Linked DNA regions of Homo sapiens: regions 1 and 3 are each linked to region 2. The links are contacts of gene promoters, found by promoter capture Hi-C in human tissues and cell types (Jung and others, 2019). All regions are on one chromosome and are shown on one strand. The core of a region is centred on a gene start or on the middle of the fragment in contact, and the rest is flanking DNA. Distances in the headings are between cores, read along the strand shown.

What was found. The method cuts DNA at HindIII sites, captures the fragments that hold promoters and counts their contacts. A contact is called where the count stands out against the background at its distance.
Region 1: a fragment that was not itself captured here is called in contact with the fragment with the promoter of KLHL38 in region 2 in 1 of the 25 tissues and cell types used here (mesenchymal stem cells).
Region 3: a fragment that was not itself captured here is called in contact with the fragment with the promoter of KLHL38 in region 2 in 1 of the 25 tissues and cell types used here (H1 embryonic stem cells).

Annotation. Positions count from the first base shown.
Region 1 is chr8:123,316,292-123,319,214 of GRCh38, forward strand. No RefSeq gene overlaps it. Among named protein-coding and RNA genes, the nearest start is that of MIR548AA1, 30 kb to the right of the region's middle. The HindIII fragment of the contact is 9,728 bases long and covers 1-2,923 here.
Region 2 is chr8:123,651,997-123,655,405 of GRCh38, forward strand. It overlaps KLHL38 (kelch like family member 38), which reads right to left and starts at 1,805. Exons shown (of 4, transcript NM_001081675.3): 1 at 1,590-1,805; 2 at 1-931. The coding sequence starts at 930. The HindIII fragment of the contact is 9,515 bases long and covers 1-3,409 here.
Region 3 is chr8:123,351,385-123,354,392 of GRCh38, forward strand. All of the region lies in intron 13 of ATAD2 (ATPase family AAA domain containing 2), which reads right to left. It also overlaps the pseudogene DUTP2. Among named protein-coding and RNA genes, the nearest start is that of MIR548D1, 4.8 kb to the left of the region's middle. The HindIII fragment of the contact is 4,136 bases long and covers 1-3,008 here.

The DNA of each region.
Region 1 (2,923 bases), core at 1-2,500, 340 kb before region 2:
CTGTGCTCTCTGAAACATGTGCTGTGTCCACTCAGGGTTGAATGGATTAAGGGCGGTGCAAGATGTGCTTTGTTAAACAGATGCTTGAAGGCAGCGTGCTCGTTAAGAGTCATCACCACTCCCTAATCTCAAGTACCCAGGGACACAAACACTGCGGAAGGCCGCAGGGTCCTCTGCCTAGGAAAACCAGAGACCTTTGTTCACTTGTTTATCTGCTGACCTTCCCTCCACTATTGTCCTATGACCCTGCCAAATCCCCCTCTGTGAGAAACACCCAAGAATTATCAATAAAAAATAAATAAATAAATTTAAAAAAAAAAAAAAAACCAAATTACTGATACATGCTACAACACTGATGAATTTCAAAAACATTATGTTAAGTGAAAGAATCCAGATGTAAAAGACTATATATTATTTCATTTACAGGAACTGTCCAGAAAATGCAAATCTATAGAGACAGAAAGTAGGTTAGGGAATGCCTGGGGTTGGGGGTAGGAGGCCTGACTGCAAATGGGCACGAGGAAGAGACTGGAAATCTCTCTTTTGGGGAGATGGAAATGTTCTAAAACTGATTCATGCTGATAGTTGCACAACTCTGTAAATTAACAATCATTAAATTGTACTGTTAAGATCAGTGAATTTTATGATATATAAATTATACCTCAATAAAGATGTTAACAATAAATTAAAAAATACATGTAAGAATTGGAGACAATATTTTTTATGCTTGAGGGTCTCTAAAGGCCTTGCTCAGGATCTGCTGCTTATAGTAAATGAAAGTTGAAAAAAATACATATTTATTTTATATGCTTTTACTGGTTAAGAATTACATTCCACTATCAGTAACAGAGATCCACTCAAGGATACTGAACAGCAATTCCCTAAAATTATCATGCACACACACATACAGATGCTTCTTAACTGTATATATGTGTATATGTGTGTGTGTATAGGAAGCTCAGAAGGCAGAAAGTACTCTCATCCTTGCCCTTCCAGAGAGCTTTCCTAGAAACTGTGTGCAATTCCCTATCTCATTGGCTAGAATTTAGTCACGTGGCCATATTTTGCTGCAATGGATGAAACATAACTTTCCAAATGGGACTTTGTTACAAATAACGGAAGAATGGATATTAGGAGGCAAGTTGGCAATCTTTTCCTCAATGTCAGGGAGCAATCTCTTAATTACATTACTTTGAACAATAAAATACTCTGTATATAAGGTGGGGAGTAGTAGGGAGAAGACACGAGTCTAAAATAAGCTCAATTAACTCTACAATGTGTACATTTAGGGATCACTGATAGAACTGGCCTAAAAATAAATGGCAGAGTGTAACTCCTCACTCCTTAAGAGTGGGCTGTTCATTGTGTGACTTCTTTTCAGAGTACAGTTCAAAAGAGAGAAGTATAGTTCAGAAAAGATTAATTTTTCGGTGGAGAAACCTGAGAAATACTACTTAACTTGGTGATCAAAGTCAACCAATAGTCAAGAATCACATCACTAGTAGGCAACCTTGATATGACCACTTTGCCTTCCTTCCCCAAACCCATAGTCCTGGTCTGGTCATGAGAAAAACATTAGACTATTCCAAAATAGCTATCTTCCAAAATATTTGCCTGGTATCCTAAATATTGTTAATGTCATCAAAAATATCCACATCCATTGGGTTGTCTTTTTGTTGTTGAGTTTTAGGAGTTATATACATTATTTGTTGAAGCACAAAGTTTTAAAATTTTGATGAAGTCCAATTTATCTAACTGCCAAACTCAAGGTCATGAAAATGTCCTTGTTTTCTTCTAAGAATTTTACTTTTAGCTATTCAACTTAGGTCTTTAATCCATTTTGTTGTTGTTTTTTTTTTAAATCAACTTTTAAGTTCTGGGGTAAATGTGCAAGATGTGCAGGTTTGTTACACAGGTAAACGAGTGCCATGGTGGTTTGCTGCACACATCAACCCATTACCTAGGTATTAAGCCCAGCACACATTAGCTATTCTCAGATAGGGATCTAACTTCATTCTTTTGCATGTGAATATCCAGTTGTTCCAGCACCATCTGTTGAAGAAATGGTTCTTTCCTATTGAATAGATGTGGGCACTCTTGTTGAAAATCAAGTGACCATAGATATATTGATTTCTGGACTTTCTATTCCATTGACCTATATGTCTAACCTTATGCCTGTATTATACTGCTTTAATATATGTAGCTTTGTAGTAAGTTTCAAAGTCAGGAAGTGAGTTCTCTCCTTTTTCAAGATTTTTTGGGCTATTCAGGGTACCTTGCAATACATCATGATTTTTAGGATTTACTTTCCTATTTTTCAAAAAAAGGCCATTGGGATTTTGATGGAAATTGCATTGAATCTGTAGTCGCTTTGGGGATTACTGCCATCTTAACCAGTACTGTCTTCCAAACCATGAATACAGGCTGTCTTTCCGTTTATTTAGGTCTTACTTAATTTCTTTTGGCAACAGTTTGTAGTTATCAGTATGTTAAATTCTTATATATCCTTGGTTAAATTTATTCCTAGGTGTTTACTGTTTTAGATGTTATTATAAGTAAAATTGCTTTCATAATTTTCCTTTTGGGCTGTTCATTGCTAGTGTATAGAAATGCAACTGATTTTAGTATGTTTTCTATCTTGTAACTCTGCTGATTTTTTTTTTTTTTTTAAAGACAGAGTCTCACTCTGCCACCCAGGCTGAAGTACAGTAGTGCAATCTTGGCTCACTGCAGCTTTGACCTCCTGGGCTCAAGCTTTGACCTCCTGCCCTCAGCCTCCCAGGGAATAGCTGGGACTACAAGTATGTGCCACCATGCCCAGCTAATGATTGTATTTTTTTTGTAGAGACAGGGTTTTACCATGTTGTCCAGGCTGGCCCTGAACTCCTGAGCTCAAGTGATCCACCCACGTTGGCCTCCCAAA
Region 2 (3,409 bases), core at 555-3,054:
GCCGGTCTGTTTGCTGTACAGTAGGACGTCCCTGGTGGTCTGCTGGCTGTCCTTCCTTCCGCCCAAGAGGATGAGGAAATCTTGGTAAGAGTTTCTTGGAGGGACATGCAACAGGAGTTTGCAGTCTGGGACGGTGGTGCCACACAAAGAGAACATCTGTCTCTTGGCGGTCTCCAAGATGATCTGGCATGCAGGCGAGGACTGCAGGAGGGCATCGTTGGCGATGAAGTGGTGAAAGAAGGCTGGGTGGATGTACTGCAGCCTGACCTGCTTGAACAGTTCCTGCATGTATCGCTTCCGGGCCTGGAGGTCATGCTTGATCCAAACCATGAGGGCCTCAAACACCTTTTCCTCCTCCCCACAGAGCCCATCATCTCCGAGATAGTCCCTCAACTCCAAGGCACAGAGCTCCTTCAGGTCGGCCGATGCGGCCACCTCTGGGAAGGACGTCAGTGCCACCTCCCTGGCTTTCTTCTTGAGGGTCTCGCAGCTTAAGATTTCTGAGAGTCTGATCATACCCAGGCAGTTGCTGGGGGCCAACTGGCTCTGCAAGTACGAGGAGCAGGCCTCAAACAGCTTGGGGAACTGTAGCATGGAGGCGGCCTCCATCACGGGGAGGACATTGTCAGTGGCAATATGTGCCTCCCCCGTATACACGTAGGAGACGATCTGGTCCAGGGTTGGGGGGTCAATGCCTTTCAGCTGCACTTTGGCTTCACTCTTCTCCCGGAAGCTGCTGCAGAACATAGCCCTGAAGTAGGGGCTGCTGGAGGCCAGCACGTTGCGGTGGCAGGGGATCTCCCGGGCACCGGCACAGATGCTCACATCAGTCAGGATCCTGCTTTGCCTTAAGCTGTTGAGCTGCCTCAACAAGTCAGAAGAGAAGTCGTGGTCTTTGAAGAGCAGCCCATCTAGTGACTCCTCGTCCATCCTACAAAGAGGGAAGGAAGCCCCCAGAGTCAGCAAGAGTCAAACCTTTCTCAGCTGCATGTGCTGGAGGGTTCAGCTGTGGGGACTCCAAGACCAGTGCTCCTATTCCATTCCCCATGATGTTTGCGGATGTCACCATGGATATTGTGTAGGGAAGATTGGAAAGGAAGGCCACATACATCTCAGACCTGAGCCCTTTTGGGTTATGGTTATTTTCAAAAGTAATAGGCAAATAGTATCTTCAGCTAATCTGAGAGAAACAACCAAACAAACAAACTAAAGTTGTTGGAAGTTACTCTGTTATCAGAAGCTGAAATGTTAGTCTGAAGCAAGATAACAGTCCATGGATTTGACCAGCAGAAGTTCATGAGCCTTTTTCCAGATCGATGGCATATCTGTTATTGAGTAACAGATGTCTAAACCTCTCTTTCTGGGTGTCAATCATTCCCCAAGGATGATATTCTGGAGGTGTGGCCCTCTGGTCACTGGACAGAAATGAGGGAAGAAAATGGACCTTTGATGCATATATTTAAATATGACTTCATTGAGTCTTGTTTTAAAGATAGAATAAATAAAAGGAAAGACCAAACAATCCCCTGGTTTATTGGATGACACCTGGTTTTCTACTTGCAGAAGAAATAAGTATGAGGGACACTTACCTTGTTTTGCTGCGGTGACATCCACTGGTGCCTGGTCTGACTTATCCCCCCGGAGAGTTTCTACCTCTAGCTCCAAGGGAAACCATAAACCCCAGGCCTTTCTTTCAGTTGGCAAATGATTTGTCCTGGGAGATTTCTGGATTTGTTTATGCTGAAGGCACTTTCATAGTTTTCTAGAGCTTTGTGCAAGGACTGCTGGGCAGGGAGACAGTGTATACATTCCAGGGCTAAGAATAGTTGCATATGTACTTTCCACTGTTATGACATGTGACTTTCCAGTTGCCTTTTGCAGCAACCCGAGGGCCTGCAGGGCCGGCGCATGCCCACATGCCTCGTTTCCTTGGCAAGTGTTTACATCGGCAAAAATAGATCGGGAGGAGCGGCTTCTCTTAGAGAAGACTTTGCTGTCTGCTTGGAACCATCCCGAGTCCCCTGTCCTAAAAGTGCTTGGGAATTCTAGCCGTCTGTAAACAGGTTGCTGTGACCTGTGGAGAGTCACTGAAGATGGTTCTGGGCCACAGTGGAGGTGGCAGGTGGTCACAAGGGAAGCCGGAACATGAGCCTGTGGGTGCTATTCAATGGATCTCTATTTCCCACCATCTGCCTGGCGGGATCGCTGGGGAGAGCTGTGATTTCCTCCTCCAGGATCCTAGGTGATGAAATCCATGACAAAAGTTGTTGTTTTTTGTTGTTGTTGTTGTTGAGCATCCCAGGGTTTCCAGACTCCTGAAGGCCCAAACCTTTGTCAGGTCTCCTTACTCAGGAACCTCTGATTGACAGTGGTAAGGCCGAGCTCCTCCTGTCGCGTCTGCCTCTCCCAGACACGTGCTGATTGCTCTTCAGCTGGCTTTTTATAGTTCAGACTTCCTTTTCTGTCTTACTTTTCCATTTTGTCTTGTCTGGCAGCTTGAGCTAGAGGCAGGAGGCAAGGCATATTGCTTTAGGGAGAGAGAGAAAGAAGATGAAGGAGGATGAGGAGGAAGAAGAAGCAGGGACAGAGGGAGGGAGAGAGACGAGAGGAGGAAGAAGAGGAGGAGGAATAGGAGGAGGAGGAAAAGAAGCAGGAGGTAGAGAATCGGGGGAGGAATGATGATAGTGATGTGGTAGGAGGCAGCTTTCAATAACAATCAGAATCACGAGAGAGAGTGAGGGGGACCTCAGGTCTGTTCTGCCCCTGCCTTCAGGGAGGTCCATGATTGTCTTAGCCACAAAAGGCAGGGAAGCCTGACTTTGTCTCCTACTCAACGTCTTGCTCAACTAGTGCAATGGTCTTCCATGCATTTTTTTTTCTTTGCTCCTAGTACTTCTCTCTCCAATACATCCACCCTGTCTTCTCTGGAGCAGCCCCTGGGAAGGCAACTCAGAATTTGCCAGTCCCCAGCATCAGGCCCTTCAGTGGCTCCCCATGTCTGCAGGACTCCTTAGCCAGAATCGGACTGGTGTCCTGTCTGCTTCTGGAACCATGTCTACTGCCACTCATGTGTGGTAATCTAGCTCCATGAGACACTTACAGATCCTTGTATGCATCTGGTCACTGTTGGGGAAGCTGGGCTGGCCTGGCCTTTGGGACACCACAGGGCAGGGTGGAAGGAAGAGGGTTTCTCATTCACAGTTGCCGATCGTAGAGTGGATTATGCCCAAAAGAGTCCAGAAGGTCAAGGCCAGGGAAATGGATCCAAAACATGTTACTGGGGCCATGGGCCTGGAGGCCAGAATTAGGAGCAGGAGGCCTAAGCTAAGGGGGTCAGAGACCCATGGAGGCACAAGCAGGGAGCAGGTGAGAGGAGCTGTTCCTCCATATGTCCGAGTTGGTGAGCTGT
Region 3 (3,008 bases), core at 319-2,818, 300 kb before region 2:
TGCTAAGTAGCTGCCCCCACCAGTTGTGACAACCATAACTGTCTCTAGATATCTGTCCCTTCGGGGAGGGGGATGGCATCATCCCTGGTTAAAAAACGACAGGTCTAGATCCACTATTTCATAAGAGGCTGCAAAATGGTGACTTTCTGATTCAATCATTTCTTTTGCATTTATTAGCTGTGATTTTCCTATACAAAGAACTACACTACTTCATCAACTGCTGAATTACCCTCAATCATGGCCTGTATAGGACAGGAAGAAGAAATGTTTGATTCTTTCCCTCTTATCAATTTTCAGAGTAATAAATAATAACTCAGCAACCTTAGGTGACCAGTTGAATTAAAAACATTATTAAAAACTGATGTTTTTTTTTTTTTTTTTGAGACGGAGTCTGGCTGTGTCGCCCAGGCTGGAGTGCAGTGGCACGATCTCAGCTGACTGCAAGCTCCGCCTCCCGGGTTCGTGCCATTCTACTGCCTCCACCTCCCGAGTAGCTGGGACTACAGGCACCTGCCACCATGCCTGGCTAATATTTTTGTATTTTTAGTAGAGATGGGGTTTCACCGTGTTAGCCAGGATGGTCTCGATCTCCTGACCTCGTGATCCACCCGCCTTGGCCTCCCAAAGTGCTGGGATTACAGGTGTGAGCCACCGTGCCCGGCCCTAAAAACTGATGATTTTTAAGATCTTGGTGTGTTCCCTGCCAGCAGTGGCGGGGGTGGTGGTGATGGGGAGGAGGCTCATTCTGCACTTTCTGGTTCTCGTGGCTATCTCCTCCCCTCACCTCCTTGCTCTGCCATGCCCTGCTCCAAAGAGACACCTGTCATTTCCCCCGGCAAGTGGGTCTGGCTTGCACAGGAGGGTGGGGTGGGGCATGTAGCTCCACCTTGCCTGGTTCTGGACTCAACCTGGGAGCTGGGAGTCCACACAGGCCGAGGGCTATGACCTATACAGTGCATATGATTATACAGTACCACCTATGGAAGAAGCTATCAGACATTCAGATAGCTGCTCCTTCTGGGTATTATGGAAGAGTAGCTCTACATTTTGGCTTGGCTGCAACACTTAGGAGCTGGGTATCTTAGATGAAGGTTATAGGAGAAACATTGGTGTTTTGTCAAAGAAAAGTTTGAAGTCAAAACTTCAAGGTGATCGAATTGCACAGCTTATTTGTGAATGAATTTTTTATCCAGCAATAGAACTCCAAGTTCTGAATAACAGTGCTGAAGAGGGTTCCGTAAGTTTTGGTTGCACTGGAAAGAAAATTTATGCCAAGAATAGAAATTAAGAAATCATACCTTTTTTTTTTTTACAAATAAGATGTTTTCTTTTAAAAAAAAAAACAACAAAAACAAAATCAAAAACAACAACAACAACAACAACAAAAAACTGATGGTGGCTGGGCATGGTGGCTCATGCCTGTAATCCCAGCACTTTGGGAGCCTGAGGTGGGAGGATCACTTGAGCTCAGGAGTTCAAGACCAACCTGGGCAACAGAGACTTCATCTTTACTAAAAAACAAACAAACAAACAACCAAAACCCAGCTGAGTGTGGTAGTGTGTGCCTGTAGTTCTGAGAAGTTGAGGTGGGAAGATTGCTTGAGCCCAGGAGATCAAGGCTGCAGTGAGTTGTGATCATGCTACTGCACTCCAGCCTGGGTAACAGAGTAAGATTCTGTCTCAAAAAACAAAAACAAGGCCTTGTGTGGTGGGTCACGCCTGTAATCCCAGCACTTTGGGAGGCTGAGGCAGGTAGATCTCTTGAGGCCAGGAGTTCAAGACCAGCTTGGCCAAAATGGCAAAACCCCGTCTCTACTAAAAGTTCAAAAATTAGCCAGGAGTGGTGGCACATGCCTGTAATCCCAGCTACTGGGGAGGCTGAGGCACGAGAATAGCTTGAACCTGGGAGGTGGAGGTTGCAGTGAGCCAAGATCATACCACTGCACTCCAGCCTGGGTGACAGAGTGAGACTCTGTCACAAAACAACAACAACAACAACAACAAACCAAACCAAAACCAACAACAACAAAAAACTAACAACATAAAAAAGTGATTTTTTTTAGGTATTTGATATATTTCTATCTACTGTAGTCACTATTTTTGATGCTCAAATTGTTTCATCTTCAGCCAGTGAGAGATCCCTCAAAATTGGCTCCTATGTCATTCTGGTACGATTCCAGTAATTTTTTTTTTTTATTGCTTTCAGGCATTACAAAGTATTCCAGGCTTGTCTTGATCGTTTCTGCTTCAGTGTTACAATCCGCCATCTCTCCTGAGTCCTAATATTTAGAGACCACACTCAGGGATGGACATTAATTGCTACTGGATTGTGATTGCTTCTAGGCCTGTTTAAAGTGTCCAGAGTTAGGATTTTTTTTTTCTTTAAACAAAACAAAACAAAACAAAAAACTCTGTCCCAAGTTTCTATTGATATTTGCAATTCAAAGTAAAGACTATCAGGGTTTCAGGTCAAGTGGGTGGCTCACGCCTGTAATCCCAGTACTTTGGAAGGCTGAGGCAGGTGGATCACCTGAGATCAGGAGTTCGAGACCAGCCTGGCCAACATGGTGAAACCCTGTCTCTACTAAAAATACAAAAAATTAGCTAAGTGTGCTGGTACATGCCTGTAATCCCAGCTACTCGGGAGGCTGAGGCAGGAGAATTGCTTGAACTCGGGAGGCAGAGGTTGCAGTGAGCCAAGACTGTGCTACTGCACTCCAGCCTGGGCGACAGAGCAAGACTTTGTCTCAAAAAAAACAATTTAGGGTAATTTGACTTCTTTATTTCACACTTGTATCTTCTTTCTCTTAGGTTGAAAATATTATTACCTAATGACATTCACATAATTACTTATTTGCATTATTCTACAGTATTATTACTAAAATTAAGTGCAGAATACAGTTTAATCATCTTCAACATGCAATGTGCTAAATTCTAAAAAAGCTTAATTTAACATACATTTTTACTCTGTCAGAATTTTTAAGTTTTTGGTTAAAATAACTTGAATA